Regions from separate parts of the Homo sapiens genome. Here regions 2, 3, 4 and 5 are each linked to region 1. Evidence: promoter capture Hi-C in 16 types of primary human blood cells and fetal thymus (Javierre and others, 2016). All regions are on one chromosome and are shown on one strand. The core of a region is centred on a gene start or on the middle of the fragment in contact, and the rest is flanking DNA. Distances in the headings are between cores, read along the strand shown. Region 1 holds the start of MPLKIP (M-phase specific PLK1 interacting protein). Region 2 overlaps INHBA-AS1 (INHBA antisense RNA 1). Region 3 has its middle 7.8 kb from the start of VPS41. Region 4 overlaps TRG-AS1 (T cell receptor gamma locus antisense RNA 1). Region 5 has its middle 170 kb from the start of INHBA.

The links. The method cuts DNA at HindIII sites, captures the fragments that hold promoters and counts their contacts. A CHiCAGO score of 5 or more calls a contact.
Region 2: a fragment that was not itself captured here is called in contact with the fragment with the promoter of MPLKIP in region 1 in 1 of 17 cell types (neutrophils); the score reaches 6.7 in neutrophils.
Region 3: a fragment that was not itself captured here is called in contact with the fragment with the promoter of MPLKIP in region 1 in 3 of 17 cell types (non-activated CD4 T cells, activated CD4 T cells and naive CD4 T cells); the score reaches 8.9 in non-activated CD4 T cells.
Region 4: a fragment that was not itself captured here is called in contact with the fragment with the promoter of MPLKIP in region 1 in 2 of 17 cell types (naive CD8 T cells and activated CD4 T cells); the score reaches 7.5 in naive CD8 T cells.
Region 5: a contact is called between a fragment that was not itself captured here and the fragment with the promoter of MPLKIP in region 1, in 2 of 17 cell types (neutrophils and total B cells). The highest score is 8.4, in neutrophils.

The regions. Positions count from the first base shown.
Region 1 is chr7:40,133,223-40,135,922 of GRCh38, reverse strand. It overlaps MPLKIP (M-phase specific PLK1 interacting protein), which reads left to right and starts at 1,301. Exons shown (of 2, transcript NM_138701.4): 1 at 1,301-1,694; 2 at 2,664-2,700. The coding sequence starts at 1,356. It overlaps SUGCT (succinyl-CoA:glutarate-CoA transferase), which reads right to left and starts at 918. Exons shown (of 14, transcript NM_001193313.2): 1 at 803-918. The coding sequence starts at 902. RefSeq lists silencers at 846-1,045, 1,506-1,575 and an enhancer at 1,226-1,295. The HindIII fragment of the contact is 4,548 bases long and covers 1-2,700 here.
Region 2 is chr7:41,715,759-41,718,458 of GRCh38, reverse strand. The region is part of intron 2 of INHBA-AS1 (INHBA antisense RNA 1); the gene reads right to left. Among named protein-coding and RNA genes, the nearest start is that of INHBA, 14 kb to the right of the region's middle. The HindIII fragment of the contact is 4,048 bases long and covers 1-2,700 here.
Region 3 is chr7:38,915,673-38,918,372 of GRCh38, reverse strand. No RefSeq gene overlaps it. Among named protein-coding and RNA genes, the nearest start is that of VPS41, 7.8 kb to the right of the region's middle. The HindIII fragment of the contact is 5,075 bases long and covers 1-2,700 here.
Region 4 is chr7:38,374,071-38,376,770 of GRCh38, reverse strand. TRG-AS1 (T cell receptor gamma locus antisense RNA 1) reads right to left here. Exons shown (of 4, transcript NR_040085.2): 4 at 1-1,214. Among named protein-coding and RNA genes, the nearest start is that of TRG-AS1, 34 kb to the right of the region's middle. RefSeq lists a silencer at 1,989-2,283. The HindIII fragment of the contact is 952 bases long and covers 907-1,858 here.
Region 5 is chr7:41,868,711-41,871,410 of GRCh38, reverse strand. No RefSeq gene overlaps it. Among named protein-coding and RNA genes, the nearest start is that of INHBA, 170 kb to the right of the region's middle. RefSeq lists an enhancer at 737-786. The HindIII fragment of the contact is 5,071 bases long and covers 1-2,700 here.

The DNA of each region.
Region 1 (2,700 bases), core at 52-2,551:
CACTTTGGGAGGCCGAGGCGGGAGGATAACTTGAGGTCAGGAATTCGAGACCAGCCTGGCCAATATGGCGAAACCCCGTCTCTACTAAAAATACAAAAATTAGTTGGGCGTGGTGGCGCATGCCTATAATCCCAGCTACTCGGAAGGCTGAAGCAGGAAAATCTCCTGAACACGGGAGGAGGAGGTTGCAGTGAGCCGAGATCGCGCCACTGCAGTCCAGCCTGGGCGAGACAGCGAGACTCCGTCTCAAAAAAAAGAGAAAAAAAGAAAAAAGGAAAAAAAAGATTCATAGTGGATTACCATTCCCAAATTCAGAGGGAGTAAAGAAAGTTCTATAACACTGTAGTAAAGCTAAATTTCATCCTCTAAATAAAATTCTGCAACAGGTAACTGTACAAGGGCATCTTTTATTGTACATGAAGTGTCAAGTTATTCAAAGCAGCGGGCTAAAGTCCTTTCTGAAATGTGGCTTGGTGTGCATTTTCGAAGTTACTTAAACTTGGCGGACGAAAGGACAGGAGTAAAGAGGCCCCAAACGCGAGCCGCGGGACGCGCAGGAGCGGGACCCCACGGCGCACGGAGCCCTCGGTCACAACAACGCACGGGACAGAGGCGACCCTGGGCGGCCAGAGCGGGGCAGGCCGGCCGCAGGCCCACGGAACGGGGTTGCAGGGAGGCGAGCAAAGCCACCGCTAAGGGGTCAGCAGAGACTTCAGACCCTAATTGCTCTCCTCAGGGCGCCCGAGGAGGCAAGCTGGGGCAGGGATCCCTTTAGCCACCCAGACCGAATCTCGGAGGGTACCTGACTGCGGGCGGCCAGTCCACAGCCCCCTCCCGCCGCCCCGGCCGGAGAAGAGGCAGGTTCTGCGCAGAGCTGCCACCCTCGCCAGCGTCGCCAGCATCGCGTGCGTCTCAGATGGCATCGGTCCCGGTGCAAGCGGCGAACTCCGTGCGGCGCCACCCGCCGCCACTGGGGGGCGCCCACGGACGCCGCAGACCCCGCCCCCGCCGGGCGGGGCTGAGCACTAGTCGCCTGCTGGGCCAGCTTCTAGTCTGTCGGTCAGACCAAGGGCACTCAGACTGGAAAGGTTGTTGCTGGGCTTGGGTGTCCGTCCTTTCCTGTCTCCTTTTCTTCCTCTTTTCACTTAAATCCACTGAGTCTCTCGCCAAGTCAGTGATTTAGGTAATCCCGCCGCCCCTGGCGGAACCTTTGTGACGCCGGAACTGATGTGCCGTAGGGTGGCTGCGGTCGGAGGACTGTTTTGGTAAAGGACTAGCAGTTCTCTGCGGAGGGCCGGTTGATACAGTTCCGGTGGGAGAACGCGGCTGCGAGGTTTTCGGCTTTGGCTCCTGATATGCAGCGACAGAATTTTCGGCCCCCAACTCCTCCTTACCCTGGTCCGGGTGGAGGAGGTTGGGGTAGCGGAAGCAGCTTCCGGGGAACCCCGGGCGGGGGCGGACCACGGCCGCCCTCCCCTCGAGACGGGTACGGGAGTCCGCACCACACGCCGCCGTACGGGCCCCGGTCTAGGCCGTACGGGAGCAGTCACTCTCCGCGACACGGCGGCAGCTTCCCGGGGGGCCGGTTCGGGTCTCCGTCCCCTGGCGGCTACCCTGGCTCCTACTCCAGGTCCCCCGCGGGGTCCCAGCAGCAATTCGGCTACTCCCCAGGGCAGCAGCAGACCCACCCCCAGGTAATAATAATAGCCAGCGTTTGCCGAGCTCTTACTTTATGGCAGGCACGGTACTAATATTCCCTTTACGTGGATTATTTTGTCTAATCCTCTCTGAGGTACTATTGTTAGCCCAATTTTGCAGATGAGCGAACTGAGGCTTAGAGAAGTTGAGTGACTTCCGGAAGATTATCCGAAAGAGTGGCAGAGCCGTACGTTCTGTTTTCGAGCCCTCGTGCTTTTAACCAATACACTGCCACCCGTACACAGATTTTCCTAATTCTCCATTTCCTCCTGTTTGCCAAAGGCCTTGCCAGTTTGTTTCAAGAAATAGTTCTTTTTCTTTTTTTTTTTTTTTTTTTTATCTTTCTTTCGAGCTACACTGGCTTCTGCTCCAACTTCCCTGAAAAGAAAATCGGTGGTAGTGGAAGTTTTCCATTCCTTTAGTGAGAGTAAATACAAAAGACAGAGAGAGTATCTCTAGCATGTCTGGGATTTCTGTGGTTTACAACTTGCAACTACGTGGTTTTCCAACTTGCTGTATTCTACACCAACCCCCTACCCCTTTTGAGCCTGGAGCTAAGGAGTAAAGAAAATGTTCATGAGCTAGAAAGGTTCTAGAAACTTTAAAACTATAGTATTGTTTTCTCCTGAAAAAAGTGAAAATTTCGAGGGAAAATTGAATATAATTACTTGATTTCATCACTGCTTGTATTTAATTACTGCAAAGTTACTACATTAGACACAAAAGTATTTGAGATGACAGTGGTCATGGAATTATAAATAAATGAGAATAACGAATTGCTTTAAGTACTTTTTTTAAAAAATAGGAACACTTGATTAAAGGAAGCATGGACTTTGTAATTGAACATTATTTAGGTTCAAGTCACAACTTTTAAGCAGCAATGTGATTCCCGCTAACCTTTAGCTAAAGGAAGAAGTACCAATTATCTTTACTAAGTGTTTTTTTAACTGATTTTTTTTCTAAAGGGTTCTCCAAGGACATCTACACCATTTGGATCAGGGC
Region 2 (2,700 bases), core at 140-2,639, 1.6 Mb before region 1:
AGTTATCTGGTCTTTCCAAACCTCAGTGGCTTCATCTGTAATTAGCAATAATAAGAAAACCTATTTCAAATTGTTATTTGAAGGGTGAAAGGGTATTACACATATATCAAGCACTTTGCTCCATGCGTAGCAGAAATGAGTGCTTGATCAATGATAACTAACAGAGCATCATCTTCATCGTATTTCCACCTTCATCTAAAAACAGCCTTGAGGCTGTGGCTATCACATTATACATCTCTGTGCCAGACATCTACCCCAGGTTTTTTATTCAGCCAACCCTCTCTTACAGACCTTTGAATCCCTTAACACCAAAGACTTTCACAACCACTCCACATAAGAAACACATCCTATGCCCATGCCCTGGGCTGTTTCACTATTCACAATGGTTTGTCCTTTGAAATCTTAATCTTCAGCATTCCATTTTCTGAGACCCAATGCCCATTAGCTCTCACTCTCTCTCAACATACCTACATTTCACATCATCGATATCTCTGATTCCTGGATGATGCTATTTTTCACAAACTATCAGTTGCTTTCTGGCTTCACTTCTTTCTTCACCTGGTTCAGATTCCTGAGGGCACAGCTCAGTTTCTTTACTGACCTTTCCTTTTACTCCCATTCTTTGTTGTCCTTTCTCAGCTCCTGCTCTGCCAGAATCTGAGTCTGGATCGCCCGATGTGCACTGTGTAGTGTGCAGCCAGTCACAATAGCCACATTCCAAATGTTCAATAAGCACACGTGGCCAGTGGCTACTCGATTGCACGGTACAGATTGTAGAAACTTTTCATGATTGCAGAAAGTTCTACTGGACAGGAGTGCTATATCTAAACAATTGACCTTCTCTCTTCTACACTTTACAGTGAAGAACACTTCTGGGTAAGACAGAACAACTCTGTGGTTTGGTGTTCCTGAAACTTCTGTGCATTCAGTCTCAATGACTTCCAGAATGCCTGGAGGTGTTCGGAAGCCCCCTCATCTCCTATCTGCTTCTGCCACTGTTATAACATTTCATCTGTCTTTTCAAACCTTCCACTCCACCACCTCCACCAGCTTTGACATCTCTCTCAGCAGATGAGCTTACCTTCTTTTTTACTGCAAAATCAATGAGATGAAAATTCTCTTAATTCCCTTCTCTGTCAGTTATTATCATGTCTCTCTATGCCTATCCTTTATTTTTTTTTCTTCTTGTTTAATTTAAGGCTAATCCTACCACCTATGCTTAGGATTAATTCATCAGCCAACAAATATTTATTGAGCAACTACTACATGTCAAACACAGTTTCAGGTGCCAAGATTTAGCTGTTAACAAAACAATGTCTCTACCCTCATTCTAGTGTTGTCACATAGGCAATAAAAAAATACCTCAGATGGTGATAAATATAACAGAGAAAAATGAAACAGCCTGGGTGTTAGGGTGTACCAGGATGGAGTCCGTTGCTATTTTATATTGAGTGGTCCAAAAAGGCTTCAGCGATCTGGAAACAAATAACAAGAAATTCAGGGAGTGAGCTGCGAGGGTGTCTGATGGAAAATGATGAAATTCCTGGCAGAGGCGACGTCAAGCACAAAGGCTTGGGAAATGCACGAGCTCATTCTGTTGGAAGGATAGCAAGGGGGATCACATGGGAAGAAGACAGAGACCAAGGAGAAACAGAGAAGAAGGCACGTTCGGGGATGTGGCCAGGTCACGTAGCTTCTCTCTGGCCACAATAGTGAGCGAGTGGAGAAGCCACGGGAGGGTAGGAGCAAAGGAGAGACCTCATCTGCCTTGCATTTTTGAAAGGGTCATTTTGAGTGTTGGATTCCAGATAGTCTATGGGGGCAAGGATGGGAGTAGGGAGATTTGCTAGGAGGCTGTTGCAATTATTCAGGTGTGGTGGTATATTTAGGTCAATAGGGATGGCAGTTTGGCCTGAGGGACGGTGGTGGAGGTGGTAAGGAGTGGTGTGAATGTGGGTCTATTTTGGAATCAATCCATCATTTCTCACTTCAGCAGGAAACTTGCTTATCTGTCTTCTCTCATATTGTAAAATTATTTACCTTTAGCAGTTCACTTCTCTCCGAAGAGCTTAAATCTCTATCTTAAAATTTAAAAGGGCTTTCTCTCAATCCTCAATGTCTCCTTCTCTAGTCATTACTCAATTTCTTCTTCACGTTTGACAGAATACATCTCCTTAGTCTTCTCATCCCCTTCTCTTCCCACTAAAATCTATCCCCAAGTAACAAAGCTGATCTGCTCAGGCTAGCACTGGCACTGATTAGAATATTGCCAGATCTATTGGGCCTTTCTGTCAGTGTCTTACTTGACCACATCGTGTCATATGACCTTTTCAAACTCTCACTTTTCTTGGCTTCCTTGACAATGTTCCCTACTTGTTTTTCTCCTACACATCTGACTCCTTCTCAAAGCTCCTCACAGGCTCCTCTTCCTCCACTCACCTCGTAAATATGAAGGTTCCCAAGCCTCTGCCTTTAAATTTCTCATCTTCTGCTCTTCTCTGTCTTGAAGGTAATAGTTGCTAGAAGAAATAGTTCCCAAAATGATGATGCCTCAAAATCAATAAAGGCTTATTTCTCACTCAAGCAATAATACAAAACAAACATTTAGTGTTTTAAAACTAGTATAATGTTTTAGAATTGAAATTCTAACCCAGGGGCCAGGATACCAGATAGCTATCATATACCAGAGTGAAGGGGATA
Region 3 (2,700 bases), core at 38-2,537, 1.2 Mb after region 1:
TTTATTTGTTCGGTTGGTTGATTTTTTTTTTTTTTTGAGATGGAGTCTCGCTCTGTCACCCAGGCTGGAGTGCAGTGGCGCGATCTCAGCTCACTACAAGCTCCGTCTCCCGGGTTCATGCCATTTTCCTACCTCAGCCTGCCAAGTAGCTGGGACTACAGGCGCCCACCACCACACCTGGCTAGTTTTTTTGTATTTTTAGTAGAGATGGGGTTTCACCATGCTAGCCAGGATGGTCTCAATCTCCTGACCTCGTCATCCACCCACCTCAGCCTTCCAAAGTGCTGGGATTACAGGTGTGAGCCACCGCGCCCAGGCAATAAGTTTTTTAAAAATGCCACAGAACTCTAGAGTGTGATTCAAATTATGTTTAAAACACATAAAGGAAGCCCTTGTATACATATCTGTGGGAAAAAAAATCTGGAAAAATATCCCTCAAAATACTGCAATGAATATAAAGACAAAATTCCTCCTAGGGTCTCTTCTCACTCTTGTTCATTACTGAGTGATATCAGACAGACCATTTATACATTGCCTTTTTCTTTTTAAAAAGACATTAACCTTCTCCATTAATTTCTAATACTTCCCATCTAGACATCCATAAATGTGAAGTATTAACATACTCTGGAGTGTTTTCCAATACCTACAATCAACTCTTGGACTCACTGGACACCAGCTGGGTGTTCAACAACTTAACTCAATTCTGATACTAACCACCCGGGGTTAGCACAGACCCTATAGCTTAAGAGCTCAGTCCCACAAAACTGCCCCCTACTTCAAATGTCAGTTGCAAGTCCTGGGCCTCCTGTGCTTCTGGCCAACCAGGTATAAATAGGAGCTTCCTATGAACCCCTTCTAAGGTTCCATAACTTGTTAGAATGACTCACAGAACTCAGGAAGACACTTTACTTACATTTACCAGTTTATTATAAAGGATACAAATGAACATCCAGATGAAGAGGTACACAGGGCAAGGTCTGGAAGGGTACGGAGCACAGCAGCTTCCGTCCCCATGGGGTACTCCATGCTCCCACTGCGTGGACGTGTTCACCAAATTGGAAACTCATCAAATCTCATTTCGAGAGTTTTTATAGAACTTAATCTCCAGTCTTCCCCGCCCCTCCCTGGGGGGCTGAAAGTTCCAGCCCTATAATCAATTGGTCTTTCTGGTGACCAGTCCCATCTTGCTGCTATATAGGAGCCCCACCCTAAGTCATCTCATTAGTATAAACTCAAGTGTGATAAAAAGGGATTCAATAACAAAATATACTCCTATCACTTGGGAAATTCTAAAGGTTTTAAGTGCTCTGTGCCAGGAACCAGAGATAAAGACCAAATATATTGCTTATGATAGCACACATATCTAGAAGGACGATCACTTATGGGAAATTGCATAGAAAAGGGTAACTGGTAGCATTTTCTAACCTCACTATGAGTAAGATACAGTTCCACGTTCTCTGTAATTGTACAGAAACTAACATTTTTGGGCCATACTCTTTCTTTATGTATAAGAGATTTCTGATAATCACTGCACAGTCTCCTTTGAGAGACTGAGTAAAGGGCGACTCTGCACATTCCCCCAAATTTCTTTTCTTCTTTTTATGAAAACAAGTAAGTCTTGAGAGTGGTCCTGTGCCTCTAAATGAGGATCATGAAAAATGGAACCTGAAGAGGAGACTGCAGTGTTCGTTATGTGTATACTGAAGTGCAGGAAACAAAATAGCAGTACAGCAGTGATAAATACAACTAGGCCCCAGCCTTTGGCAAGGAACTTGACCTACATTTTCTCATTTGTTTTTTGCAACAACCCTGATTGGAAGGTACTTTTAGCCCATTTAATAGCTAAGAATACTGGACTTTGGAAAAGTTAACTTGTCCTAGATTTATTATAAATGGCACACACAAAATTTGAATCCTGATCTGATTCTCAAGCTCTTAAATATCACAATGAACTGGAAAAAAAAATGCAAATTGGTACCCTGGCAGTAATGTTCTTGTCCTATGTCCCAAGATTCCAAAACTTTTATAATCTGAAAATTTGTTCTTCTCACACACGAGCGTGTGATTGCTCCCTTTCTCCTGTGTCAGGTGGGCAAGTAGAAGAATAATAATTTCCTCAGGTGCAGTAGGTGATGTCTTTTGGCTGAGTCATTTCTATTCTCAAAACTCCTCAATGGCTCCCTACCACTGTATCAGTTAGTATTAAGTCTGTCTGCTTGTGATAGGCAAGCTACAATAACACAAGGGATTATTATTTTATTCAAAATGAGTTTGGAGGCTGGGCTTAGTGGCTCACGCCTGTAATCTCAGCATTCTGGGAGGCCGAGGTGGGTGGATCACCTGAGCTCAGGAGTTCAAGACCAGCCTGAGCAACATGGTGAAACCCCGTCTCTGCTAAAAATACAAAAATTAGCCAGGCGTGGTGGTGTACACCTGTAGTCCCAGCTACTCGGGAGGCTAAGGCAGGAGAATCACTTGAGCGGGTAGGCGGAGGTTGCAGTGAGCCAAGATCCTGCCACTGGACTCCAGCCCTGGTGACAAGAGTAAAACCCTGTTTGAAAAAAAAACAAAACATTAGTTTGGAGGCAGGCAGTTTAGAGGAGCGTGTTGGCTTCAGTCATCAGGGACCCAGGCTTCTCCTATCTTTCTGCTTCATCCTTAGAATTTGGTTTTCATCCTCAAGGTCACTTGTGGGACCTG
Region 4 (2,700 bases), core at 133-2,632, 1.8 Mb after region 1:
ACAAAAAAAAATTATACAGCTGTACAAAATATTTTCTTTATATCCTTATTCTATAAACTGTTTTCTATTTTTAACATTTTCACTTTTAAAACATTTTTGCTAAAAATCAAGACACAGCCACACATTAGCCTAGGCCTACAGGGTCGAGATCTTCAATATCACTGTAGTCCAGCTCCACATCTTGTACCCACGGAGGGTCATCAGGGCAGTAACACACATGGAGCTGTCATCTCCTAGGACAACAGTGCCTTCTTCTGGAATTCCTACTGAAGGGCCTGCCTGAGGCTGTTTTACAGTTAACTTTTTTTTTTTTTACAAGTAGAAGTTGTACACTCTAAAATAATGATTAAAAAGTATAATATAGTAATTACATAAACCAGTAACATGGTCATTTATTATAATTTTCAAGTATGTACTGTGCGTAGCTGGATGTGCTAGACTTTTATACAACTGGCAGTACAGTAGGTTTGTGTACACCAGGGTCACCACAAATGAGAGTCGTGTTGTGATGTTATGATGGCTACGATGTCACTAGATGACAGGAATTTTTCTGCACCTCTATCATCTCATGGGACTGTGGTACATGCGGCCCATCGTTACTGAAATGTGATGAAGTGCATGACTCTAGTCTTCACAGATACGGAGGCTCTAAGGACAGATATCAAATACATTAGACTGGGCACCTATGGGGGAACAGGAATAGGGAATGAAGGAGAGAAAAGAGTAAAATAAAAAACAAACATGCAAAACTGTACATAACTGGCATGGATTAATGGTGATAATGTACCAGGCACTGAGAAATATGACAGAAAAATATGAGAATTAAGGTTTTAAAAAACAAGCAAAAAACAAGAAGATACCAAGCACTGATTTCAGGATAACTCCCTGAAGCCTCATATTTAAGCTTTGAGACTTAATTTTGGACAATCCAAAACAGTGGTTCCAATGAGTAAATCACAATTAGGGTAATCCAAAGAGCTCTCTTTCTTCAGTTGTCTGTGGAAAATGTGACATTTTCCTTCAGGTAAAATCCGTGTACACTGGCTGCCAGCACAGAGCCATCTGGCTGGCCTTGGCCGCTGGGCATTGGTCTTGGCTTTGTCCCACCCCCGCAGCAGCCTTCTTCTCCAGGATGGTCAAAGCTCACCCAGAGCAAAGATGCTCTGCACTCAGGAACACTGGATTCAGGCATTGATCCAAGCCCCCGTGCAGCTCTGTGATATAAAAATGAGAGGAGGGAGGAGAACTTGTCTTTTAGCCAAAACATTTTCTAAACCACAGGCAGTTACCATGTCCTTCAGAGTCAAGGCACATTAGGTACAAGGATTATTGATAATAATCCTTGTAATTTTTAAGACCACAAAACATTGAAACATTGAAAATTATAAATAGATAACATCAAAGCATGGTGGGAATTCTATTTTGTATGCATGTTTAGACTAAGGATCTTTTCTTTTTTTCCAGACTGGGCCAGAACCAAGTACCTGTAAGAATCAGCACAGTTCAGCCTTTTGTATCAATTGCAGTTGTGTCCATGTATGTGTGTGTGCATTCTTGGGTACATGTGCACACACCTGCATGTTACCTACACAAACCTCCGTGTTCCCATCCTTCTTAGGTGGGATTTTTGAACACTGCATTTACACTGGCCTGAAATAAGTTTGTTAAAGTCATCGGCCTCATGTAGTGGCCAGGCTGGGCTGCAAAGCCATTGGCTATCCAAACATTCAGAAGACCTTTAGGAATCAATGTTTTTGTTAAGGAGTCTATATAGAATAGGCTTTTCCTAGAGCAATGTTGAGTCAAGAGGAAGCAAATAACATGCATTATTGTTGGATCAAAATAAAAACTAGAAGCTTCCATTTTTCATTTCACCACACCTATTCCTTCAATATCCAGTTTATCAATTCAATTCAGAATCACAATTAGAACTAGAAGAGACCAAAAACATCACCCACTCCTCTGATTTTGAGGCGGGGGAAATGACAGCCCTGCAAGAAGGAGTCTCTTGCCTAAAACTATCAAGCACATAAGGTGTGCAGTTGGAACCTGCCTTGCATTTGGGGACCTTTCCATTCGTTATACGAAGTCTTTGCCATTCGTTGGGGTCTAATATTGGGGTAATATAACATGTATGGTATACCTCGAATGGCCAGGAGGGGGTGCTACAGGTTTGTACAAATAACTAAATGCAGTCAAAACACTACTTCTTTTAAAGCATGAAGCTGGGAGTTGAAATCAAATCGGAAATATAACATTTTGTATCAAAATGCAGCAGCTTCATGAAGACAGAAATTAATCCCTGAATCATAAACAGCCAAGCAGTTCCCTTATGGTACAGGCTCTGGAGACTTGTCTGTTTGGTTCAAATTCTTGGTGTGCTGTTTATTAGCTAGGTGACCTCGAGGAGTTATTTAACCTCTCTGTAAGCTTCAATTTCATCTGAAAAATGGGGATAAGTAACACCTATTTTCTGCTTGCAAGAAAAGAATAAATATATACAATGTTTGACACTCAAAGGGTATTTGCTATCATTTAATGGATCAAGAATTTCTGCTATGACTTTAAAAATTAGTCTTTTAATAAAAGGCCATTAACTATTTACTTAACAGTGCTAGAGGAAATTCCTATGACTTTTTGAGGTCCACCATAATTAACTGAATGAATACTATTCAACAGTATCTTAGGTTGTTTTCTTAC
Region 5 (2,700 bases), core at 136-2,635, 1.7 Mb before region 1:
TCTCTTCCCTTGACCTCTTTTATTTCATTGTCAGATTTTACTACTAGCTTAAGAAAATTAATTGAGAATTGACCCATCCTTTTCTATGCATTATAGGAACTCAGATGGCCTGAAAATTAAGTTCCTTTAAACCATCTGACACTGTTTTCCAACTTTTAAAATGTATTGCATAGTTTTTGGCTTATTTCTTTTTCTTCTTTCTGAATCAATTCTTTTAGTAATCATAGTCTTAAAAATAATTTCTTCAATTGATATTTTCCAAATTATTAGCAGAAAATTGATGACAGAATTATGCCAGGGTAGAGGGGTGGGAAATGGACTAGGAAGGGGGCACTTTTAAATTAAAAAAAAAGTTTTTATTTTGATTGTGGTGGTGTTTATGTGGTGTATATATTTGTCAGAACTCATTGAAATTTGCACTTGAAATCAATGCATTTTATTGTAAACAAACTATCAATAAAGTTGATTTATTTTAAAAAGCCTTTTTAATATTTGGTTATTTTCAATGTGTTAGTCACATGTAAAATATAGTTGTGTGTTTTAGCCTTTTGTGGTCACAGTGAGAAGGCTTTCTTCTTTCATTTGATAAGAAACAGCTGTGACTAATTAGCTTTTCTCAACCACCAACTATATAATGTATATATGCAATTGATATATAGTCAACTAGGGTGACCAACTATCCTGGTTTACCAGGGATGGAGGGATTTCCCAGGATGGAGGACTTTCAGTGTTAAAACCAGAAAGGTCTTAGGCAAATGAGGAAAGTCCCAGACAAGTCAGGATGAGTTGGTTACCCTAGGTATATAGCTGAACACACTTAGCATTTCTTGTAATATACAGTAAACGACATATTACATAGCAAGAGGAAGTAAAGAGACTTAGCATGAACATAGTCTCCACAGCAGATAGAATTTACACATTAATTTTTAAATGGTGTAAGAAAGTTTTGATAAATGATCTAATTCTGGTACTAGTTATAGACCTTGAGAACTAGGGTACCCACATTGCTAGTTTACCATGGTAGCTACCCATCATCTCTCCGTGTCCTGAGACTATGTGGGAACCTACACAATCTTCCTGGCTCTGGTCTGCTGTCATCAGAAACACCAAACACTTAAAAAAAGTGCCAAGTCACTGGACCTACGGGGTTAGTTCATTTTGAAAACGGAACTGGACTTTCTACCAAGAACCAGAAAAATGTTGAAAACATAAAACAACAAGAATCTGTGGTGTGTTTGTAAAAACCAAGCCTCTGACCCTGATCTAAACCAGACTGTTCTCCTCCTGGCTTCCTCCCTTTTTCCTTTAATTAAGCTAACTGGAAAGGCAAGGCTTTCATCAGACCAAGACGACAATCTTCCTACCCTAATCTCTAGGACAAAACAGAGAATCTGGTCTGGAATTGAATTTGAAATATTAAAGAAAAATGCCTACCAGCTTAATGTTGTCACTGTCGTATGTTTATTTTTCTTCCTTTTATGTCTGATGTCAAGGAGAAAATAATGTCATCTGCTGGAAATTTCAGCATGTTTGCATTTTGAGATAATTAAAATTAATGGTGGAGAGCCAAACTAGCACCAAACAATCCCTGTGATTCCCATGTGCGTAAAAACATTTTGTAATGACTTTCACTTAATCTGTGAGCCTGGCAGGCTGCCCCAAACCACCTAGATCCAAACTAGATTCAAGCAGCAAAGTTTGCTTTTCAAAAATAAAAATGTATATTCTGGAAGTTAGAAATTAGGGCATCGGTAAAATAGTTAGGCTCTGCAGATTGCTTTATCCATTTGGGGTTTTCCTCCAACTATGTTTCTTCCTTTTCCAGCTTGGATGGCAGGACTTCTAGTGCACATGGCAATAATGTTGCACCTCACAGCTATTGGAAAGGCAAGTCTTCCATAGGAAGGAGCAGAAATGAATTTTCCTTAAGGATCTGTAAACCCAGGAAACTCAGCTCTGAGAGATCATCTGTGAGATTCATTCAGTGAGGAAACTCAGACACAATGGTCATTTTTTGTAGGGCAGGTAGTAGTTGACAGGATGTTTGACTTTTCAATAGACTGCTTTACCAACTGTGTAACAGTCAATGTGATTCATCCATAAGAATCTCTTGCTTAATATCTTTTAGTAACCTCTCATCATCCACAGGGTAAACCCCAAACTCCTAACCCCTTGGCATGAAGCCCAAGGCTTTTCTTAAACTGGAGCATTTTTAGTTTCTAGCTTCATTTTCCTACTGACCATCCCATATATCACAGGCCATAGCTATCAAACACCTTGTAGTTTTCTGAACATATGGTGCTGTTCTGGGTACATACTCTTCCCACTATTTAGGAAACTCCTAAATCACTTCATGAATAATCTAGCACTTTACATCTGGTAGATGCTCAGTATATTTGCTGAATAAATAAATTTTAGAGCTTAACTCAAAAAACGCTTTTTCTGACTCCCTACATGAAATAAGGACTCCATTTTCTGTCTTTCCAAAATTCCTTGGATGTGCTTTAGCATGGTGGTTCACAACCAGGTGAGATTTTGCCTCCCAGGAATATCTGACAATGTCTAGAGACATTTTTGGTTGTCACACTGAGAGGGTGCTACTGGCATTTAGTGGCTAGTGGCCAGGGGTGCTGCTAACCATCTTACAATGCACAGCATAGCCTCCACAGAAAGAAATATCCAGCCCCAAATATTAATAGT